Regions from separate parts of the Homo sapiens genome. Here all the other regions are linked to region 3. Evidence: promoter capture Hi-C in 16 types of primary human blood cells and fetal thymus (Javierre and others, 2016). All regions are on one chromosome and are shown on one strand. The core of a region is centred on a gene start or on the middle of the fragment in contact, and the rest is flanking DNA. Distances in the headings are between cores, read along the strand shown. Region 1 overlaps ATP2B4 (ATPase plasma membrane Ca2+ transporting 4). Region 2 overlaps UBE2T (ubiquitin conjugating enzyme E2 T). Region 3 holds the start of TMEM183A (transmembrane protein 183A).

Evidence for each region. Contacts are between HindIII fragments. The CHiCAGO score rates a contact against its expected background, and 5 or more counts as called.
Region 1: a fragment that was not itself captured here is called in contact with the fragment with the promoter of TMEM183A in region 3 in 1 of 17 cell types (fetal thymus); the score reaches 6.0 in fetal thymus.
Region 2: a contact is called between a fragment that was not itself captured here and the fragment with the promoter of TMEM183A in region 3, in 2 of 17 cell types (total CD8 T cells and naive CD8 T cells). The highest score is 7.3, in total CD8 T cells.

What each region holds. Positions count from the first base shown.
Region 1 is chr1:203,673,075-203,676,967 of GRCh38, reverse strand. All of the region lies in intron 1 of ATP2B4 (ATPase plasma membrane Ca2+ transporting 4), which reads right to left. Among named protein-coding and RNA genes, the nearest start is that of ATP2B4, 48 kb to the right of the region's middle. The HindIII fragment of the contact is 1,144 bases long and covers 1,713-2,856 here.
Region 2 is chr1:202,336,420-202,340,183 of GRCh38, reverse strand. The region is part of intron 1 of UBE2T (ubiquitin conjugating enzyme E2 T); the gene reads left to right. Among named protein-coding and RNA genes, the nearest start is that of UBE2T, 3.6 kb to the left of the region's middle. RefSeq lists enhancers at 2,595-3,118, 3,119-3,643. The HindIII fragment of the contact is 850 bases long and covers 1,225-2,074 here.
Region 3 is chr1:203,004,559-203,008,670 of GRCh38, reverse strand. TMEM183A (transmembrane protein 183A) reads right to left here and starts at 1,297. Exons shown (of 8, transcript NM_138391.6): 1 at 1,097-1,297; 2 at 808-897; 3 at 1-28. The coding sequence starts at 1,205. It also overlaps the pseudogene MGAT4FP. RefSeq lists enhancers at 398-1,170, 1,171-1,945, 1,949-2,078, 2,720-3,494, a silencer at 989-1,238 and a cis regulatory region at 2,619-2,968. The HindIII fragment of the contact is 953 bases long and covers 805-1,757 here.

The sequences.
Region 1 (3,893 bases), core at 1,035-3,534, 670 kb before region 3:
TCTGTCCCTTGTTCCTGACTCCTAAAGGCACTGAAATAGGTCAGGGAAATATCTACCTCTTGTAAACTTTCTGGGAAGGCATAGGGATAGACTCAAAGCTTTTTGGGAGCAGACACCCTCCCTTCCCCCTTGTCCTCCCCTCCCCTCACCCCACCCCCACCCCAAGCCAGAAAGCACTGGGCTCTAGATTGCTGTGAGTCCAAGCATATCCAATTCCTGCCTGGAGAGCCCAGTGGTGGGGATGAGGGCTTCCTCCACTCAGTCGTCTCATGCTCTTGGCCTTGCTCCCCCTGGTGATCTGGGAGAAGCACAGAGGGAGAACCTGCTCTGCATTCTCTCTCTTGTTTCCAGCAGGGCTGTTTCCTGTGCACCACCTTGGGGGGTTTAAGCTCTACTCCTTCTCTCTGGCACTCTTACGCTTCCAAAGGACAGTGCCCTATCAAGAAAGCTGGCAAGAACCTGACCATGGTAGGCTGCCTAGCCTAAAACATCCCTGGCTAGCCCTTCTCTCCGGAGGTGTGAATCTCAGGCAGAGGCTGTTCTGCCCGCCTCCTTATCACAGGCTCCTTATTTCCATGACCCAGATTCTAGTTCACCCTGGCCACTTCCAATCCCTCAGGTCTGGCAGCCATCCTCATCACAATCCCGGGTTCTTCCTCCCCTCCCCATGTCTGCCCTGCCCTAATTGCTCCTTAAATGCCAACTGGTTTGCAGAAGCAGACTAGAGCACATGCCCTCCTTCAGCCTACTGAGGCCCTTTGGAGGCATGGGAACAAGGTCAGAGGCAGCAGGTGTTGGCTAAAGTTCAGGTGGCGGGTGGGACCACTTGTCATCATCATCCGACAGCCACACCCAAGCCAGGAAGCCAGGTGAGGGCGGGCACACCAAGCCAGGCCTCTGGCCTCACCATGGGATAGTATACCATGGCCTGGTCAGGGAATCTGATGCTAATTTTCAGCTAGCCCCTAGAACTTAGCCTCCTGGGGGTGGGGTACTCCCTTCCTGAAGTTCTGGGTTCTGGTTCATGTCTCCTTTGCTCTTCCCTCTCCCCCCTATAGTCCTTCCAGGTTGCTAGTCTCTGCTTCCAGTCATCTCAGGACAGCCCCCTTTCCCAGAGACCCAAGGAAAGCCCACATCCTTTTAGTTTTTGAGAAAACAGACTTGAGAGGATGTCACTCGCAGGCTCAGTTCTCTCTTTCTGAAGATAGAACGCCACTTCCTGGTTAGGAGGTGGTATCCACGGGCCTCCCTCACTTACTTCCCCCTCTCCAAGTCTGCTACTCTGACAGCACCTTCTTCAATTCCACCAAAAAAGGTAGTACTAGAGTCAAAGCATCTAATCGGAGAAAACGTGTCACTCGTAGCCCCTGGGTCTCAGGAATCCAGAATTCATCCCTCCTCCCCAGAATCACTTGGTGCTTTTTGGTCAAACTACATCTATGCATGCTGTGGACCCAGTCATCTAGTCCTGGCTACATCTTCCAAAGAAATCCTCATCCAGGGCCTGGAGGGGGCATGTGCAAGGATGTTCACTGGAACATTATCTGTGGTGATCTGAGATCCAAAAAATAAAAATAAAATACCTCTCAGTCTTGGAGTGGCTGTGTTGTCTAGGATATGCTGTGCAGTGATAATGGTGGCAAAACTTACCAGTTCTGGTCAGATGCCTTCAGAAGGCAGGGAGAAGGTAGGACCCATAGATGACAAAAGCTTTCTCCAAACAGCGATACCAAGAATTGACCCAAGGTTGACAGCCTGATCCTGATCACCTGGTCTGCTAAGATCCAACCCATGTCACAGGTTTTAAGAACCACCAAGATGAAGACAGAAAGCTCCAGGGCATGGGTAGGGAAACAGTGTGGTGGGAGGAAGCAGGAATGTGCCTGGGAGGGCACGGCTGTCCCCCTGACCCCTGGCCACTGGCTCCATCTTGAAATGGCATCAGTATTATTAAGATGAGGCCAGGCGCAGTGGCTCATGCCTGTAATCCCAGCACTTTGGGAGGCCAAGGTGGGCAGATCACCTGAGGTCAGGAGTTTGAGACCAGCCTGGCCAACATGGCGAAACCCCGTCTCTACTAAAAATATAAAAATTCCATCCTGGCTAACATGGTGAAACCCCGTCTCTACTAAAAATACAAAAAATTAGCCAGGTGTGGTGGCACGTGCCTGTAGTCCCAGCTACTCAGGAGGCTGAGGCAGAAGAGTTGCTTGAACCCGGGAGATGGAGGTTGCAGTGAGCCAAGACTGTGCCATTGCACTCCAGCCTGGGAGACACAGTGAGACCCCATCTCAGAAAAAAAAAAAAAAAAAAAAAAAAAAAAAAAAAAAGCCAGGTGTGGTGTTGCACGCCTGTGATCCCAGCTGCACAGAAGGCTGAGACAGGAGAATCACTTGAACCTTGGAGGCAGAGGTTGCAGTGAGCTGAGATCGTGCCACTGCATTCCAGCCTGGGTAACAGAGTAAAACTCCATCTCAAAAAAAATTATCAAGATGAGAAAGGGCAGTCCCTTAGGCCCAGAGCCTTGGGAAAGCCAACCTCTTTCAAATTGTGTGAGTCACACTGGCCTGGGTCACCTCTGTGTCCTCCAGTGACTCAGAGGATGTATGGGGTGGAGGTAGGGGTGTTCACAGCAAGCTAGAGCTCAAAAAAATGTAGAGGATGAAACAGCAGCGCTCACCATTTCCTTCAGTTGTTTAAGGAGGACAAGAGCCACCTTCAGGTGGAAGTGACAATGCCATCTGGAAGGTCTGTTTAACAAAAGGGGTACTGGCAGCCTCTCCTGACCCCGTTCACTCAGGATAAGGGTTAGCAACGATAACTGCTACTCACTCCTCAGAGCTGCGGCAGGAAGCTTCTAGGCCACAGACAGGACGCAGCCCTCCGGCAGCAGCATTCAAGTATTTCGTATATGCACTCTCTTGGACTACACAGACTGTCTTTCTTGGGGCTGCTGTGGCTTTCCATATTTTGGTTTCAAGGGAACAAAGGGGCTTTTTAGCAGCTGGATCGGATCCTAGGTTATTTTTAGAAACGAATTTCAGCAGAATCATGTCATGCTTATGGAGAGGGGTCATCTCCCTGGGCTACCGGGTCGGGACCTGGTTGTTCCCAGGCCTCAGGATCTGGTGGAGTCCTCAGGACAAGGGGGAAGAAGTTGCCTGGCCACAGACTGAGGAGGCCACATCTCATCCACCAAAAGGGAGCACCAGGGGCAGCTGCTCTGTCCCCAGACGCTCAGCAGGAGAGGACTTAAAACAACATTCCTGTGTGGCCCAGATACTAGTCAGCATGTCCCATACTGGTCATCAGGCCTGGCTGCTCCCATTCCCTTTCTCCACTCTGACAGTCTCACCTGTACAGAGTACAGAGAACCTCCCATCCCCGCTTTACCTATTCCAGCCTTCTCTGGGCTTATTTCCTGGAAGTCACAGGCAAATCAGCGAGGGCTCCATGCTGAAAAGACAGTGCTTATTAAAAAAGGTGGCCAGGAATGATCGCTAATAACCTGCCACCCCTCTGCGCCTGTTTTATTCTTCCTTGTTCACATATTGCACAGACAGGATCCATTCAGTCAGCCTAGGCCTTTGGAAAGCGAACTGATCATGCTTCCTTGCACTTGAGTAATGTTTTAGAGCTGTGGTTCTCAAACCCAGAGTGAGCACTAGGATCCTCTGGAGAACTGGGGCAAACCTATTGGGCCCCTCCCTGCCAACTCCTGAGTTTCTGGTGCACAAGAACGGAGGTGGGGCCTGGGAAGGTGCACTCCTAACAAGTTCCTTAACAGGGTGAGCTGATGCATCTGGTCTGGGGACCACACTTTGAAAATGTTGCGAGGTTCCAAAGCATTCCCATGAACCCCTTCAGCTCCAGGCTGACATGGGAAGGCACAG
Region 2 (3,764 bases), core at 400-2,899, 670 kb after region 3:
GGCTGGAGTACAGTGGCGCGATCTCAGCCCACTGTAACCTCCACCTTCTGAGTTCAAGCCTTTCTCCTGCCTCAGCCTCCTGAGTAGCTGGGATTACAGGCCTCCACCCCCGCAGCTGGCTAATTTTTATATTTTTAGTAGAGAGGGGATTTCCCCATGTTGGCCAGGCTGGTCTGGAACTCCCGATCTCAAGTGATCCACCTGCCTCAGCCTCCCAAAGTGCTGGGATTACAGGCGTGAGCCACTGTGCCAGGCCTCACAAGCTGGTCTTGAACCTCTGCATGTCCTCCCATATACTTTATTTATTTTAGAGATGGGGTTCTCCTTTGTTGCACAGGCTGGTCTTGAACCCCTGGCCTCAAGTGATCCTTCTGCCTTGATCTCCCAAAGTGCTGCAATTACAGGTGTGAGCCACCGTGCCCAGCCCCACCCCCATATACTTTGAATTATTTCTTGATTACTTATAATACCTAATAAAATGCTAAGTAAATTGTTGTTACACTGTATTGTTTAGGGAATAATGACAAGAAAAAATGTATAGTACGTGTTTGGACGAAGATGTTTTTTTTTTTTTTTTTTTTTTTGAGACAGAGTCCTAATCTATCGCCCAGGCTGGGGTGCAGTGGCGTGATCTTGAAGTACAAAACACTTCCAGCAAAAAATCTTTATTTTTAAGAAAAAAGTATTTTTTCTCATTTTCTATTTTTGTCATAAATTTTTATTCTTTCCAGTGGAACCAAAACTTGAACTTCCTTTTGGTTGATACATGCCCAGCAAGACTGATCAAAGAAAAGATGGCACAGATAAACAGTGTTAGAAATGAAAATGGAAACATAACCATAGATAACTACAGATTAAAAAGATAAAACATTATACAAATAAATTGAAAATTGCATGTAATAGATAAATTTGTGGAAAAATTTAACTTGCCAAAATTGATGCAAGAATAAATAACTTGAATAAGATTCAAGTAAATTGGATTTGTAGGTTAAAATTTTCTCAAAATGAAAACACCAGGATCAGATGGAGTTATTCCAGACAACCTAGTAACAAATTATCTCTTGGACTAATCCACAATATGTTAAAAAAAAAAAAAAAAAAAAAAAGGAGGCAATACTCCCTAACTCATTTTAGGAGGCTAGCATAACCTTGATAGCTAATAAAGACAAAATTAGAAAGGACAGTTATAGGCCAGTCTTACTGATTAGCATAGTGTTAAAAGCTTTCCCTTTAAGGTTAGAAATCTGACAAGAATGCCAACTATCAGCTTTTCTTTCTTTCTTTTTTCTTTTTTTTTTTTGGCTGTTGTTTAGACAGGGTCTCACTCTGCCTCCCAGGCTGGAGTGCAGTGGCACAATCATGGCTCACTACAGCCTCAGTCTCCCCGGGCTCAGGTCATCCTCCCACCTTAGCCTCCTGAGTAGCTGGGATTACAGGCTCATGCCAGCATGCTTGGCCCAGCTATCAGCTTTTTCATTTAACATTGTACTAGAAGTTACTGTCAGAATAGAAGGCAGGAAAAGAATTAGAAGGGAAGAAATAAACTTGATTATATGTGGATGACATGATTGGCAGTGTGGAATTACCATTCCCAGACTGCTCCCCACCCCAAATAGATTCATCATTAGCATTACTAAGGCTTTGGTTAAAAATCAGTTAGATTGGCTGGGCGAGGTGGCTCATGCCTGTAATCCCAGCACTTTGAGAGGCTGAGATGGGTGGATTACCTGAGGTCCGTGGTTCGAGACCAGCCTCACTAACATGGAGAAACCCTGTCTTTACTAAAAAAATACAATATTACCTGGGCCTAATGGTGCATGCCTGTAACGCCAGCTACTCAGGAGGCTGAGACAGGAGAATCGCTTGAACCCAGGAGGTGGAGATTGCGGTGAGCCAAGAGCACACCATTGCACTCCAGCCTGGGCAACAAGAGCAAAACTCCATCTCAAAAAAATAAAAAAAAATCAATTAGATTTACATGTATCAGTAAGAAATGGGTAGAAAATAGTGTTTTTGAAAAGATAGCAAAAATATAAATACTTAGAAATCAGTCTAACAAAAATTAGATAAAGCTTTATAGAGAAAATTATAAAACCTTTGGAAAGCATCAAAAAAAAGACTGAAACAGCGTGTTCATGGATCTTAGGATTCAATATCATAAAGATATCAGTTATCTCCAAATTGATCTATAGCATCAATAAAATTACAATCCAAACCACAGAACCCTGTTATGATTTGGATTATAATTTCAGATATACATATTTATGTATATATTTATGGACTTATGAACTGATTCTCAAATTTATATGGAAGAGCAAAGAGTCAAGAATAATCAAGTCATTCCTGAAGAAAAAGACCAGGTGGATAAGCTATAGTAAAACATCACATTGTACACCTTAAATATATACAATTTGTATTTGCCAGTTATACCTCAGTAAAGCTGGGAAAAAATTTAAATAATAAAAAATGAATAAGCTATAGTAATTCAAACAGTGGAGTATTGTCTCAGAAATAATCCACTTGACCAGTGGAACAAATTCAAGAGTCCCAAAACAAATCCACACATATAGAAATTTAATTTATAGTAATATCAGCAGGGAAAGGATGGACTGATTCAGTAAATGATGTTAGAACAATTGACTATTCATATGGGGAAAAACTTTAAATTGGACCCCCACCTCACTCACTATACATAAAATTCAATTCCTAGTGGATTCAATATTTAAATTTGAATAGCAAAATTATAAAATATTTGAAGGCTATGTAGGAATATCTCTACATTTGGGGGTAAGGAAAAATTTAATACACAAAGTATAAATGTAAAGAAAGAGATTTTAAGATTGATTATGTTAAGAGTATGTGTTTATTGAAAGACACCATGTACAACATGGAAAGATAAGCACAAACTGGGGGATATTTGTAACACATTAAAGGATTGGTGTTGGCTGGGCGCGGTGGCTCACGCCTGTAATCCTAGCACTTTGGGAGGCTGAGGTGGGTGGATCACGAGGTCAGGAGTTCAAGACCAGCCTGGCCAAGATGGTGAAACCCCATCTCTACTAAAAATACAAAAAGTAGCCGGGCGTGGTGGCGGGCGTCTGTAATGCCAGCTGCTCGGGAGGCTGAGGCAGAGAATTGCTTGAACCCGGAAGGCTGAGGTTGCAGTGAGCCGAGATCGCACCACTGCACTCCAGCCTGGGCAACAGACCGAGACTCCGTCTAAAAAACAAAAGGGATTAGTGTCCTTTGCTTGGTTAGTAAAGAGAGAACTAGAGTTGAGAAGAGTGTTGGGTGAATATGTGTGTAGGTGTTGGTTTTAGGTGAGAGAGACTTTGAGCATATTTGAACATTGAGGGTAAGAAAGATGGAATAATTGATGGAATGGTATCCCTGAAGATTGGGAGAAGGTGGAATCCATAGCACATGGAGAGAAACTCGGACATTTAACATTTGTTTGTACCTGAGAATGTTGACTATCTCTACCATTCTTGCTCTCACAAAGCATATGTAGACTTCCTCACAACAGCAAATATTTGTCAAATCCCTTACTATGACAGGCATGCTAAGGCTACAATAGTAAGCAAAATCAGACCCAGGCCTGGCCTCATGAGTTTATAATTTATCAGTGGAAACACCCATTATTTAAAACCTTTAGTGTTTTTATTTTTTGTAGAACTTTTTGCATTTTTAGTTCTTTATTTTAAAAATATATTTGCTTGTATAGATAAACGTTCACAAGAAGGGAGTGGAAAAACTCAGATTCC
Region 3 (4,112 bases), core at 48-2,547:
GAGGCTTCCAAGCCACAAAGAGATTTTACTAGAAGAAAATAAAAGGAGAATGAGATGGCACACAGCTCCACCCAGAAATACAAACAACTTAGCCAAGGTATCAGCATCCATTCAGGAAAGGGGGGAAAAAAAACATCGTTGAGAGAGAAAGGTGAGAATCTGTCACCAAAAAAAATAAAGATTTTAGTATTTTAAATACAAAAAAAAAAAAAAAAAAGGAAAGCAATGGGCAAACTGACTCCAAAGTTGCAGAAACTCCTTTTTTCAGCCCTGAAGAAAAAAGGTGTGTACAATTTTTCCACTATAAACCCTGCAGGATAAAAGCTGATTTGTATTCTCATAAGGTCTACAGAGAAATGTTTGAGACAAATTGAATCCAATTTAATCCTGGTCCTGAGCTGGAGGCAGTAGGTGTCATAAAACACAAGTCTCAGACCCATGAGTAAACAGACTGAAAGCAAGAGAAACACCAGAAAAGGAAAAGAACACTCCAAGGTTATTAAACAAGGAAGCAAACTGCAGAGTAAAACATGTGAACTACAGCAAAGAGATTAATAACCAAGAAGAATGCAGTGGAAACTAAAAAGTATGCAAACATGTTTTTAAATGCAAAGAAAGAAAGAAAATATTTCTGCTACAGAAACTGCTACTCTTGACTAATCCTCCTCCACCCCAATATGTAAGTTAACACTAACGAAAGCAAACACGGTTACAGGAAGACGACTAAAGGACTGCAAGAAAAACAGAAATAAAATACCTAGTTCTGTCTTCGCGGCATGAGTCTTTAAAGGCTCGCGCAAAGCTTACCTTCCTGCTGAACAGCGTTGGCTACGGCTTTCTTGACTCGTCCAGACCTCACGACCGCCGGATCCGAGTTGGCGTAATCCGCCACGGTCACTGCAACACAGCACCAACCCTCAAGGAAGAGGCCTTCTCTCGTCAGCGTCTTCCCCGCCAACACCTCCTCCTCGCTGCAGGCCCCCGGACCGAGCCGCCCTCCAGCCGCGGGCACGCGAGCGCTCACCTCGGCACGGTCCAGCCCCCTCCCAGCCGCCAGCCCCCAAAATGTTTCAGCGCCCCTGCCCCCCTCGCCCACCTCGGCCGGAGCAGGCGTCGTGGGCCCGGAACTTGAGTCGCTTTCCTCTCTTGGGCATGGCGACCGTATCGGGGCGAGGCCTGCCTAGCGGGCCGGGCCCCCGGGCCATGTCTCCGGCCGGAGAGCCGGCCCCGGGAGCCGCAAGCCAGCTCCGCCCGGCTCCGCGGCCATCCCACACCGGAGGCCGCTAACTCTCGCGAGAACATAGGTCCGGGTTCCGAGTCGCGTTGTCGGACGACGCCTCTCCACGCGAACCAATCATCGCCAGGTGCAAGGATACGTCATCATCCGGCACCCGCGAATCAAGCTGGGTCCGGGTTCCAGGTGGAGAGAGAGCTGTTGTACTGGGTGGTGTCGCGTATCGCCGTACCTCGTGTGAGATGAATGGTGTCTCAGAACCATAGCCCACACCTGTGTTGATTAGAATTGAGAGTTTACATCCTGGTCTCCGGGATTCTTCTTAGTAACTCCTCTGTCCACACTCCAGGTCCACTTCAGCACCAAAATGCATATACACTGTCATCTTCGTGCTCTATCTCGGACCACAGAGACTGAGCGCCTGCTAGTCTAACATAGGTCTGTAAGAGTCTTCACTCTATTTTACGAAAGCTATAAATAAATTTCTGAATTCTCAAAATAGGAGAAGGAGTTCTTAAAAGCTTCCAATCGGCCGGGCGCGGTGGCTCACGCCCCTAATCCCAGTACTTTGGAAGGCCGAGGCGGGCGGATCACGAGGTCAGGAGATCGAGACCATCCTGGCTAACACGGTGAAACCCCGTCTCTACTAAAAATACAAAATATTAGCCGGGCGTGGTGGCGGGCGCCTGTAGTCCCAGCTACTCGGGAGGCTGAGGCGGAAGAATGGCATGAACCCGGGAGGCGGAGCTTGCAGTGAGCTGAGATCGGGTCACTGCACTCCAGCCTGGGCGACAGAGCAAGACTCCGTCTCAAAAAAAAAAAAGTTTCCAATCTATCACCATATAAGGTTAGCCGAGAGAAAGGACGAAAGAGAGACCCAAGGTCAGCCGAGGAAGTTTATTAACCTGACGGCTGCTCCACCACAGACAGAGGAGGCACCCCTGAGCTTACAAAATGAGGGGTTTATATGGGGGAGAGAGACCCTGGGGTTGTTTGCTGGTTAATTTTGCCACATATTAGCTTGTGACGTTTATTACAGGAGGGTGTAGGTAAAGTTTGTTTATGCTTCCCATCACCTTCCCCTGTGCGGTCCGGATGATTTGTAATTGGGGTTTGTTTATTGCAGCAAGGTCTGATAAGTGAAGTCTGCTGGCTTCATAAGGACTTAGAAGTGTAAAGAGGCTTGGGGGAAGGAGAAGAGTTGCAGAGCATTAGGGGGAGGAGTGAGCAGCACGGAGAGGTTTGGGGGAAGTGTCGGCAGTACCAAGAAGCTTTTTGGGGCAGTTTGTTCCTAACACACCATACCTCCAAAAAACTACTAGAAGCATCCATGAAAAACTATCGCAGAGGCAGGAAGGTCACTTGAGTCCAGGAGGTCAAGGCTGCAGTGGGCCATGATTGCGCCACTGCACTCCAGCCTGGGCTACAGAGCGATACCCTGCCTCAAAAAAAAAAAAAGGAGAAAAAGAAAAAATAACGTCTTTCCTTTGTATTGAGACAGAAGCGAGTCACTGAGTGAAGATTACAGAACTGTAAGGGAGCAGGACCCTGGGCTAGTATTATCAGGCCTCTGAGCCCAAGCCACGCCACCGCATCCCTGGTGACTTGCACGTGTACGCCCAGATGGCCTGAAGTAACTGAAGAATCACAAAAGTGAAAATGCCCTGCCCCGCCTTAACTGATGACATTCCACCACAAAAGAAGTGAAAATGGCCAGTCCTTCCTTAAGTGATGACATTACCTTGTGAAAGTCCTTTTCCTGGCTCAAAAAGCTCCCCCACTGAGCACCTTGCGACCCCCACTCCTGCCCACCAGAGAACAAATCCCCTTTGACTGCAATTTTCCTTTATCTACCCAAATCCTATAAAACGGCCCCACCCTTATCTCCCTTCACTGACTCTCTTTTCCGACTCAGCCCGCCTGCACCCAGGTGATTAAGAGCTTTATTGCTCACACAAAGCCTGTTTGGTGGTCTCTTCACACAGACGCGCATGAAAAGTAAATAAATAAATAAATTAAAAAAAAAAGAAAAGTATCACCGCGACACATAAGAAGTTATTTGGTTTCCTAAGTTATTCTCCTTTATCCTTCTAACTTCCTTGCAGCTCCTAAAAGGTGATAATCCCTGGCTTGGGAAACTTAGGACCCAGGCATCCAATCCGCTGGATCTACCAGAGAGTATCTTATTTTCAGTCTAACGAGCTGGCACCAAGTTTGTTAGGAGAAAAACCTCAGGCCTTTTACTAACATTATGTAACAGACTACCACCAGGGATCTTGCTAATAGGCTTGAATCAATTAGGAATTAAAATTGAAGCTGAAGAGAATTGATTACAATTATGAAATATTCAAATTTAATTTATCTAAAGTTACAACATGAAACAAATGTCTAATAAGCTGTTAACAAAAGAAAATTCTTTCAAATAAGGTTTCTATTTATATGTAATTCATGTTTGTAGTCCAGTTCAAAATGCAGATGGTAAGTGCTGAGGCTTCTCATTTCACAACGTTATCAATAAAAAATTCATGGCCGGGTATGGTGGCTCACGCTTGTAATCCCAGCACCTAGGGAGGTGGAGGCGGGAGAATACTTGAGCTCAGGAGTTTGAGACCTGCCTGGGCAACAAGACCCCATTCTCCACAAAAAGGTAAAAAAAAAAAAAGACCAAAAAAAGTGTAATAAAAATTTCACAAGGTTCACATAGATGTAGATTTCTACTCATGTGGCACCCTGTTGAAAACACTCAGGCATTCAGATTCTGGAGGAAATCAAAGTTACAAGAAACATAAACCCTATTACAATGTCACTATAAAAAACTTGGGTTTTAACAAGAATGTTGTCTCATTTTTCAGCAGTATAATTACTATTTTAATGCATT